Linked DNA regions of Homo sapiens: all the other regions are linked to region 1. Evidence: promoter capture Hi-C in human tissues and cell types (Jung and others, 2019). All regions are on one chromosome and are shown on one strand. The core of a region is centred on a gene start or on the middle of the fragment in contact, and the rest is flanking DNA. Distances in the headings are between cores, read along the strand shown. Region 1 holds the start of WNT8A (Wnt family member 8A). Region 2 overlaps FAM13B (family with sequence similarity 13 member B). Region 3 has its middle 15 kb from the start of FAM13B. Region 4 overlaps NME5 (NME/NM23 family member 5).

Region 1 (2,729 bases), core at 162-2,661:
ACACATAGACACACACCCCACCTGAGGCACAACTCAATGTGACGTCTCAGCTTTTCTGTTGAGATTTTATGGCAGTTAGCCATGTGAAACTTCCTCAGGAGCTGCAAACACACAGCCCTTTCCCCATTTTTATTTCATGCAACTCAGTGCAAGATCAGTGTGTACAAACGCACAAATATAGGCATGCATTTAAAAAATAGAGTAATTTCCGCTGGGCACGGTGGCTTACGCCTGTAATCCCAGCACTTTTGGAGGCTGAGGTGGGTGGATCACCTGAGGTCAGGAGTTTGAGACCAGCCTGGCCAACATGGTGAAACCCCATCTCTACTAAAAATACAAAAAATTAGCCAGGCATGTTGCATGCCTGTAATCCCAGCTACTCGGGAGGCTGAGGCAGGAGAATCACTTGAACTCCGGAGGCGGAAGTTGCGGTAAGCCGAGATTGCGCCATTGCACTCCAGCCTGGGCAACAGAGTGAGACTCCGTCTCAAAAAAAGAAAAAAAAAAAAGAGTAATTTCCTACATTTATCTCATACATAGAGACACCTCATACCCACCTCATTCAACCCATAGGATACTTCTGATGAACTAAACAGAACTGGCCTTACTGACCCAAATGACAAATCTGGGGCTGAGAGAGGGTAGGTAATTTACTCAAGGCCACACAGCAAGGAAATGGCAGGTCAGCAGGTCACTGGCAGCATTTTTATTTCACTGTGCAATACATGTCACACATATACACATACTGCAAGCCCCACTCCATTCACATATATACCCCTTGTACAGGTGAGTCCCACACAAACTTACCACTTCTCAGCCTGTTGTGGGTGGAGAGCTGAAGAGCATTTTCAGGGCAGTTCCAGCGTTCCCAAGCAAACTGGAACTTGCACTCCTCGATGCCACTCTGGGCACCCAAGGCCACACTAGTCGTGTAGGTCAGATAGGCCTGGCAAAGGGAAAAGGGCTGTGAGCTTCTGCCCGGTATGGGTCATCTGTGGTTGGGGGAGCAGGCAGGACTCAGATGGGCCAGCTCTCCATTAAGAATCAACCATGGGTTCCTCTGGGTGAGGGGCTCTGGCACTGTCCCCGCCCCTCTTTTCTCCAGAAGAGTCCCCTTAGGGCCCTCAGTGGGTAAAAACAGAAGCTGGAGATCATCCTACCTTGGGACCTGTTATCAGGAAATTGTTCACTGACCTACCAAAAAGAGAAAAAGTGAGGCAGAGGTGAATGGGGATGAGACAATGGGGGCCTCCTTGGCAAGGAGTGAGGGTTGGGAAAGGACTTACCAGGCAGAGGCACTGAATGCAGCACAGCATATGCCCAGAGCTGCCCAGAGCATAAACAGGTTCCCCATCGCCCTGCCTACCCCAGTGGACCAGGTCCAGCTCAGGGCCAAGTCCAGAGAAGTGAGGAGAGGGCAGGGTCTTCCTCAGTATTTATGTGAGAAAATTCTGAATGTCCAAGGGAGGAAATCAGCAGCTCTTCTCATTTGTTCCTAACTGGCAGGGCTGCAGGAGCCACCGGCCCAGTGGGGGATCTGGGAGGAGGGACTCAGTTTTCGCCAAAAGCCCCGCCCTGCCCAGCCCCTCCAGCCCTTCTTCCCTCCCAGAATGAGAAGGAGGCTGCTTTTCTCCTATACGTGAGATTTCTTTCTTCTATATGTCAATTTTGTCTCTTCCTGCTTCTTTGGCCCATTTCTCAGAATCATGTAGGCCAGAGCAGGCTGGGTCCTTAACCCTGAAGGCAGGTCACCTATTCTTGGAGCTACAGTGTCCTCATCTGTCAGTGAGAGCCCACTCTCTGTCCTGCCATCCTCCCCAAGGTGTTAATAATCATAAAGCAACTCCATCTGGGGCTGCTTCCTACTCATTTACCTAAACCAGTGAGTGCGCCATCCCTACCACTTCCTTCAAGGCTGTGAGGTGATGGAGCTGTGGGACTATGGAGCAGGAACACTTCAGAGTCCATCTCTGCAACAGTCCCTTCCACCACATTCTAGCAACTGCTGGGAAATTTCCTTAATTCCTAGCAAATCTATCCTTTTATATCTGAGGGTTACAACTCCAGTTAGTTGATTTTTTATATATCTGAGAACCAACCTTAGGGCCACCCAGGGTTATATTTGGGAAGACTGATGCCTTTCTCTTTTTTTTTTTTTTTTGAGACAGAGTCTCTCGCTCTGTCGCCCAGGCTGGAGTGCAGTGGTGCAATCTCAGCTCACTACAACCTCTGCCTCCTGGGTTCAAGTGATTCTCCTACCTCAGCCTCCCAAGTATCTGAGACTACAGGTGCCAGCCACCACACCCAGCTAAATTTTGTATTTTTAGTAGAGAAGGGGTTTCGCCAGTTGGCCAGCCTGGTCTTGAACTCCTGGGCTCAAGTGATCTGCCCACCTTGGCCTCCCAAAATGCTGGGATTATAGGCATGAGCCACTGGGCGTGGCCCTGATGCCTTTCTTTCTGATACTACTTTGTTACTAGGACTTCAGCTCCTTAGGTGGGAATCTGTCTTTTATTTTATTTTATTTATTTATTTATTTATTTATTTATTTATTTATTTATTTATTTTGAGATGGAGTCTCACTCTGTCGCCAGGCTGGAGTGCAGTGGCATGATCTCGGCTCACTGCAACCTCCACTTCCTGGGATCGAGCAATTCTCCTGCCTCAGCCTCCGGAGTAGCTGGGATTACAGGTGTGCGCCACCATGCCCAGCTAATTTTTGTATTTTT
Region 2 (2,729 bases), core at 132-2,631, 60 kb after region 1:
GGTTGATAGCTGGTGTATGAAGATGCACTTTCTTGAATGTCACCCAACTTTATTGATAATTGGTGTTTAATTGCATTGTTTCTGAGCCGGGAGTAGTGACTCATGCCTGTAATCCCAGTGATTTAGGAGGCTGAGGTGGGAGGTTTGCTTGAGCCCAGGAGTTTGAGGCTGCATGATTGGGCCACTGTACTCCAGCCTGGGCAACAGGGTGAGACCTCAACTCAAAAAAAAAAAAAAAAAAAATACATATATATATATATATATATATGGCTTTGTTTGTAATCACTGTTATCTCATGGTGAGGTATATGATGTAAAATTCAATGTAATTTCCTATTCCTTGTCAATAACACCATGCTAGGCAACTGTCACTTGTATTTAAAATAATTTTGCTGTTTGGGGCTGGGAGTGGTGGCTCATGCCTGTAATGCCGAGGTGTGCAGATCACCTGAGGTCAGGAGTTCGATACCAGCCTGGCCAACGTGGTGAAACTCCATCTCTACCAAAAAATACAAAAAAATTAGCCGTGCATGGTGGCACGTGCCTATGATCTCTACTACTCAGGAGGCTGAGGCACGAGAATCGCTTGAGCCCAGGAGACAGAGGTTGCAGTGAGCTGAGATCATGCCACTGCACTCTAGCCTGGGTGACAGAGTAAGACTCTGTCTCAAAAAAAAAACAAACAAAAAAAACAAACTCAAAAAACTCTCTCTCTCTCTCTTTCTCTCTCTCTCTCTCTCTCTCTGTGTGTGTGTGTGTGTGTATAAATTTTGCTGTTTAGATTTATAACAGTATGCTTTTGGAAATACTTGGTTATTTTGAAAGTCCACACATTGTATTCTCTTGTGTCAATCCTTTTATTGAACTGCTTTCTCGACATTTTATTGATTCTATCTGCTAGGACATTTTATTAGATCTTTTTGGTATATTTTTGTACGGTGCCTGCTGCTGTTTTCCTTTTTTTTCTTTTTTTTTTTTAGAATGTAATATTGTAGTTTAGGTGTTGCATTCATTTTCTAGGACTTTCATGACAAATTGCTACAAACTAGGTGGCTCTAAAATAGTAGGAAGTTTTTTCTCACAGTTGAGGAGGGTAGAAGCCCAAAAGGAAGTGTCCACAGGGCAGATTCTAGGGGAGAATCTTTCTTTGCCTCTTCCAGCTTCTGGTAGTTCCTGGCATTTCTTGGCTTCTGGCAGCATAACTCCAGTTTCTCCCTGTCTTCACATGCTCTTCTTTCTCTCTGTGTGTCTCTGTGTATCTTGTCCTCTTCTTATAAGGGCATGAGTCATTGGATTTAGGGCCTGCCCTAAATCTAGGATGATTTCCTCTTGAGATCCTTAACTAATTACACCTGCAAAGACCTTATTTCCAGATAAAGTCACATTATGAGGTTCTTGGTGGACATGAGGTTTGGGGGGGACACTATTCAACCCACCACAGATGTGAAGGGAATATTTATGTGATTTAAGCTCTGAAAAGGGGTAGGAAACAGGACTAAATAATGTCAACTACTTTGCAGTTTGCAGAAATGTTACCTTGGGCCACTCTCCAGTCTGAGAGTTCTCAGCAATGTGCTCTAGATACAAGTCCCAAGTGAAAGATTGGCTCCTGGGGTTTGGACCATAGGCCTGCCCTCTGGAAGTACCTGTTCGCAAGCTAGAAGTAAGTGATGACCTAAAATGTATATAAGACTTTGAGGCCGGGCATGGTGGATCATGCCTGTAATCCCAGGACCTTGGGAGGCTGAAGTGGGTGGATTGCCTGAGCCCAGGAGTTCAAGACCAGCCTGGGCAATGTGGTGAAACCTCATTTTTACAAAAATTAGCCGGGTGTGGTGGCCCACGCCTGTAGTCCTAGCTACTCAAGAGGCTGAGGTAGGAGGATCACGTAGGTCTGGGGAGGTTGAGGCTGCAGTGAGCTGTGATCGCATATGCCACTGTACTCCAGCCTGTCTCAAAAAAAGAAAAAGACTATGGCCAGTTTGAGCGCCAGAATGTGACATTCTATCATACTATAAATTGTGATAATTTACATGAAAAAATAGTATAGTGATTAAGAGCTCAAGGACTTTGAGAATCACATTCTCTGGTTTCATATTCTGCCTCTGACCCTTATTATCTGGGTGGACTGTGGGTAAATTGGTGAGCCTTGCAATGTCTAATTAAGGGTTAAAGAATACCTTAATACATGTAAAGTGCATGGAACTGCCTGGCATATCATAACTGCTCATTTAATGTTTGTTGCTGCTATATCCGTCAACATCCTCAGGAGAAAGAGAAACTTGTCGTCAGAAAGGTTGATGCCTCCGATTGTTTTCCTAGTATCAAGGGTAAATTTTTACTGATGAATTCATAGATTCCTACCCAGCCTCACCTTAGAAAAATATGCTTTCAGGTTGTCTAGTTAGAGGTTGCAGGTAGTAGAGGTCATGAGATGAGATAATAGGCTCCTGACTGGGAGCAGTGGCTCACACCTGTAATCCCAGCAAGGTGGGAGGGATTGCTTGAGGCCAGGAGTCTGAGACCAACCTGGGCAACATGAGACTTCCTCTCTACTAAAAATACAGCTGGGTATGGTGGTGTGTACATGTAGGCCCAGCAATTTGGGAGGCTGAGGCAGGGGATTGCTTGGGTCCAGGAGTTTGAGGCTGCAGTGAGCCATAATTGCACCACTGCACTCCAGCCTGGGTGACAGAGTGAGACCCTGTCTCGAAAAAAAAAAAAAAGAAA
Region 3 (2,729 bases), core at 59-2,558, 36 kb after region 1:
CAGCACTTTGGGAGGAAGAGGTGGGTGGATCATCTGAGGTCAGCAGTTCAAGACCAGCCTGACCAACAGGGTGAAACCCCACCTCTACTAAAAAAAAAAAATTAGTAGGGCGTGGTAGCACACGCCTGTAGTCCCAGCTACTCAGGAGGCTGAGGCAGGAGAATCGCTTGAACCCGGGAGGCAGAGGTTGTAGTGAGCCGAGATCACGCCATTGTATTCCAGCCTGGGCAACAACAGCGCAAAACTCTATCTTGAGGAAAAAACAAAAACAAAAACAAAACAAGAAATGTATCACTCTGAAGCCAGGCACAGTGGCTCACGCCTGTAATCCCAGCACTTTGGGAGGCCCAGGCAGGCAGATTGCTTAAGGCCAGGAGTTCGAGACCAGCCTGGCCAATGTGGTAAAATCCCGTCTCTACTAAAAATACAAAAATTAGCTGGGCGCGGTGGCGCACGCCTGTAACTCCAGCTAGTCGGGTGGCTGAGGCACGAGAATCACTTGAACCTGGGAGGAGGAGGTTGCAGTGAGCCAAGATCTCACCACTGCACTCCAGCCTGAGCAAAGGAGTGACTTCGCCTTAAAAAAAAAAAAAAAAAAAAAGAAATGTATCACTCTAATGTCCTTCAGAATTCTCTGATTTTTAGATTGTAGTCAGAAGGAGACTGACATTGAGGTAGTGGCAAAGGTCTGCATGGGGTACAATGATGCTATATTTCATCACATTGCTGAATACTTTTAAAAATATTGTGAATATATGAGAAAGAGCATGTAATGCATATATACAATTTGCAAAATAATTATGAAAAACAAACCCTATATACCTTCTACTTGGCTTGAGAATTAGAATGTTACAAAAGCTCTGAAGGTCCTAGGGGTCGGCCAGCATGCTGGTACAATTTGGCCACTGCAAAAAGGTGCCTTACCAAGGGGAGAGGGATTTGCCTCCTAAAAAATGGAGCTTTTTCCTTGGGTACAAAGACACCACCTGGTGCTAGGCTGAGGGTCCATAGGCTGGTTCCTACCCAGTGGATATGTCATTTTTCTAATTATCTGCTCAGAAAACAATTCTTTTTTCTAGTTCACATAGAGGCCTCTTATAGGCTAGTGTACTGTGTCCTAGGGGTGCGGGGTCACACCTATAAGTTCTGTACCCTCCACTATAAGTAACAATTATATTGAATTTTGGATTATTATTTTTCTTTAGTGTTTTACCATGTATATATGCATCTCTAAATTACCTACCTCTCTTTCCCTGTACTCCAAAGTGCCATTTGGCGTTGTATTAGTGTTTTGTTTTGTTTTTAATTGCTATAACAAATTACCACAAACTTAGTGGCTCAAACACACAGATTTGTATGTGTGGGGCAGTGGGTATATGGGAAATCGTACTTTCTGCTTTATTTTTCTGTAAACCTAAAACTGCTCTAGAGTTTTGTTTTTTGTTTTTTTGGATTTCTTTCTTTCTTTTTTCTTTCTTTCTATTTTAAAAGGCATTAGGTACTAGCATTAGGGGAAACTTGGAACTCTCTGTACTATCTTTTGCAACTTTTCTGTAAACCTAAAGTTATTCTAAAATAAAAAGGTTATTTAAAATTTTTTAAAAACACAATACAAATGTATTATTTTATAGTTCTGTAGGTCAGCAGTCTGACGTGGGTCTCACTGGGCTAAAGTCAGGCCCCTAGAGGAATATCTAGGGGTCTATAGGAAAGAATCTGTTTGCTTGCCTTTCCTAGCTTCTAGAGGTGGTCCACATTCCCTGGTTCATGGCCTCCATTCACTTTCAAAGCCAGCAATGGCAGATTGAGTTATTCTCATACCCAGTCACTCCAGTGTCTTCTGCCTTCCTCTTCCATTTATAAAGGCCTGTGTGATTACATTGGGCCCACCCAGATAATCCGGGATAATTTCCCCATCTCTGGGTCAGTTGAGCAACTTTAATTCTGCCTATAACCTTTATTCCCATTTGTTATGTGCCGTAACATATTCACAGGTTCTAGGGAATAGAATGTGGACATCTTCATTTTTTTTTTTTTGAGATGGAGTCTTGCTCTGTCACCAGGCTGGAGTGCAGTGGTGTGATCTCGGCTCACTGCAACCTCTGCCTCCTGGGTTCAAGCAATTCTCCTGCCTCAGCCTCCTGAGTAGCTGGGACTACAGGCGTGTGCTACCACGCCCTACTAATTTTTTTTTTTTTTAGTAGAGGTGGGGTTTCACCCTGTTAGTCAGGATTGTCTTGATATCCCGACCTCATGATCCACCCGCCTCGGCCTCCCAAAGTGCTGAGATTACAGGTATGAGCCACCGCGCCCGGTCTGAATGTGGACATCTTTGGGACATCATTATTCTGCCTACACTAGCCATCTTTATGTAGTACTTTGCCACATGCTTGTTCTGCCCCCCAACTAAAAATGATTGTTCTTTTGTTTCTTCTCTACAGATAGCTCACTCCATATCTGTCAAGCTTGAGTTGCTTTCTGAGTAAGTGAAAAGAAGTGGCTGGGCACGGTGGCTCACGCCTGTAATCCCAGCCCTTTGGGAGGCCGAGGCAGGTGGATCATAAGGTCAGGAGTTCAAGACCAGCCTGGCCAAGATGGTGAAACCCCGTCTCTACTAAAAATACAAAAATTAGCTGGGCGTGGTGGTGGGTGCCTGTAATCCCAGCTACTCGGGAGGCTGAGGCAGAGAATTCCTTGAACCCGGGAGGCAGAGATTGCAGTGAGCTGAG
Region 4 (2,729 bases), core at 89-2,588, 36 kb before region 1:
GACTTCCACTATCTGATTTTGAAACTTACTGCAAAGCCACAATTATAAGACGGTATGACAGTGATATAAAGATACACATATAGATTATTGGAACAGAATTGAGGATCTAGAAGTAAACTTTTACACTTATGGTCAATTCACTTTCAACAAAGGTGCCTAGACAATTCAGTGAGAAAAGGATGGTCTTGCCAATACAGTCCCCAACTTACCATGGTTCAAGTTACAGTTTTTTGACTTTACTATGGTGCTTTCAGCTGTGTACATTAATGGCGAGTATCCATACAACCATTCTATTTTGGTTTCCTTTTTTTTTGAGACAGGGTGTCTCTCTGTCACCCAGGCTGAAGTGCAGTGGTGCCCACTACAGCCTGACCTCCTGGGCTCAAGCATTCTCCCACCTTAGCCTCCTGAGTAGCTGAGACTAGAGGCATAGACCACCATGCCTGGCTACTTTTTGAATTTTTTTGTTGTAGAAAGGCAGTCTCGCCATATTGCCCAGGCTGGTATTGAACTCCTGGCCTCAAGAGATCCTCCCCCAAAAATGATATATATATATATCTTTTTTTTTTAAGAGACAGAGTCTTGCTTTGTTGCCCAGATGGTCTCAAACTCATGGCTTCAGGTAATCCTACTGCCTCAGCCTCTCAAGGAGCTAGGACTACAAGTGTGAACCACTGTGCCCAGCTCATAATATATGTATATTATATAGAAAATGTTATTTATATAAAATTTGCTTTGTGTTAGATGATTTTGCCCAACTGTAGGCTAATGTAAGTGTTCTGAGCACATTTAAAGTAGGCTATGCTATGCTATGATGTTCAATAGGCTAGGTGTATTAAATGTGTTTTTGACTTACTGATACTTTCAACTTATGATGGGTTTATTGGGATGTAACCCATGTAAATTGAGGAAAGTCTGTATATGGTGCTAGGACAGCATGATAGTCACATAAAAACAAAAAGAACTTAGACCCTTGTTTCATAGCATACACAAAAATTAACTCAAAATGGATCACAGACTTCAATGTAAAAACATCTAAAAGAAAACAAGAAAATCTTTGTAACTGGAGTTGGACAAAGACTTCTTAAAATGACATCAAAAGCAAGATCCATAAAAGAAAATATTGATAAATTGGACTAAATCAAATTAAAAGCTTTTGTGCTTCAAAGGACATCATTAAGAATGTGAAAAGAGGCTGGGCGCGGTGGCTCATGCCTGTAATCCCAGCACTTTGGGAGGCCGAGGCAGGCGGCTCACAAGGTCAGGATATCAAGACCATCCTGGCTAACATGGTGAAACCCCGTCTCTACTAAAAAATACAAAAAAATTAGCCGGACTAATTAGTGGCGGGCACCTGTAGTCCCAGCTACTCAGAAGGCTGAGGCAGGAGAATGGCGTGAACCCAGGAGGCGGAGCTTGCAGTGAGCCAAGATCGCGGCACTGCACTCCAGCCTGGCGACAGAGAAAGACTCTGTCTCAAAAAAAAAAAAAAAAAAAAAAGAGCTGGGAGCAGTGGTTTGCACCTGTAAATCCAGCTATTCAGGAGGCTGAGGTGGGAGGATTGCTTGAGGCCAGGAGTTTGAGACCAGCGTGAGTGACACCCTGTCTCTAAACACTTAAAGAAAAAAAAAGCTGGGTGTGGTGGCACACACTTGCAGGCCCAGCTACTTGGAAGGCTGAAGCCAGAGGATGCTTCAGCCCAGGAGTTCGAGGCTGCAGTGAGCTGTGCTCACACCACCACACTCCAGACTGGGCAACGGAGCAAGACCCTGTGTCAAAAAAAAAAATAGAAGTTAAATTTTTAAAAATATGAAAAGATAGGTAGGCAACAGACTGGGAAAAAATATCACCAAATAATATAAAGAACTTGTAACTAGAATATATAAAGAACTCCTATGTCTAAATAATAAGAGAAACATCCCAACTGAAAACTGAGGCTGGTTCTACTCAGGAGGCTGAGGCAGGAGAATTGCTTCAACCTGGGAGACGGGGTTGCAGTGAACTGAGATTGTGCTGCTGCACTCCAGCCTGGGTGACAAGAGTGAAACTCTGTCTCAAAAAAAAAAAAATAAAGAAAAGAAAAGAAAAAGAAAACAGGCTGGTTGCAGTGGCTCATGCCTGTAATCTCAGCACTTTGGCAGGCTGAGGCAGGCAGATTATTTGACGTTAGGAGTTCAAGACCAGCCTGGCCAACATGGTGAAACCCCATCTCTACTAAAAATACAGAAATTAGGGCCGAGCATGGTGGCTCATGCCCGCAATCCTAGCACTTTGGGAGGCCGAGACAGGAGGATTACCTTAGATCAGGAGTTTGAGACCAGCCTGGCCGACATGGTGAAACCCTGCCTCTACTCAACGTACAAAAATTAGCCAGGCATGGTGGCACACTCCTGTCTACTTAGGAGGCTGAGGCAGGAGAATCACTTGAACTCAGGAGTTGGAGGTTGCAGTGAGCTGAGATTGTGCCACTGCATTCCAGCCTGGGCAACAAAGCGAGACTCTGTCTCAAAAAATAAAAATAAATAAAAATACAAAAATTAGCAGGGTGTGGTGATGCGGACCTGTAGTCCCAGCTACTCGGAAGGCTGAGGTGGGAGAATCACATGAACCCAGGAGGAGGTTGCAGTGATCTGAGATTGCATCATTGCACTCCAGCCCAGGCAACAGAGTAAGACTCCATCTCAAAAAAACATATAAAAAAATAGAGAAAAGTTCTTTAAAAAGAACCT

The links. The method cuts DNA at HindIII sites, captures the fragments that hold promoters and counts their contacts. A contact is called where the count stands out against the background at its distance.
Region 2: a fragment that was not itself captured here is called in contact with the fragment with the promoter of WNT8A in region 1 in 1 of the 25 tissues and cell types used here (hippocampus).
Region 3: a fragment that was not itself captured here is called in contact with the fragment with the promoter of WNT8A in region 1 in 1 of the 25 tissues and cell types used here (pancreas).
Region 4: a fragment that was not itself captured here is called in contact with the fragment with the promoter of WNT8A in region 1 in 3 of the 25 tissues and cell types used here (bladder, ovary and spleen).

The regions. Positions count from the first base shown.
Region 1 is chr5:138,082,715-138,085,443 of GRCh38, reverse strand. WNT8A (Wnt family member 8A) reads right to left here and starts at 1,411. Exons shown (of 5, transcript NM_001300939.2): 1 at 1,161-1,411; 2 at 808-946. The coding sequence starts at 1,316. The HindIII fragment of the contact is 19,757 bases long and covers 1-2,729 here.
Region 2 is chr5:138,022,828-138,025,556 of GRCh38, reverse strand. The region is part of intron 1 of FAM13B (family with sequence similarity 13 member B); the gene reads left to right. Among named protein-coding and RNA genes, the nearest start is that of FAM13B-AS1, 8.6 kb to the left of the region's middle. The HindIII fragment of the contact is 7,268 bases long and covers 1-2,729 here.
Region 3 is chr5:138,046,813-138,049,541 of GRCh38, reverse strand. It overlaps a transcript of FAM13B not described here. Among named protein-coding and RNA genes, the nearest start is that of FAM13B, 15 kb to the right of the region's middle. The HindIII fragment of the contact is 5,141 bases long and covers 1-2,729 here.
Region 4 is chr5:138,119,002-138,121,730 of GRCh38, reverse strand. The region is part of intron 4 of NME5 (NME/NM23 family member 5); the gene reads left to right. Among named protein-coding and RNA genes, the nearest start is that of NME5, 19 kb to the left of the region's middle. The HindIII fragment of the contact is 8,485 bases long and covers 1-2,729 here.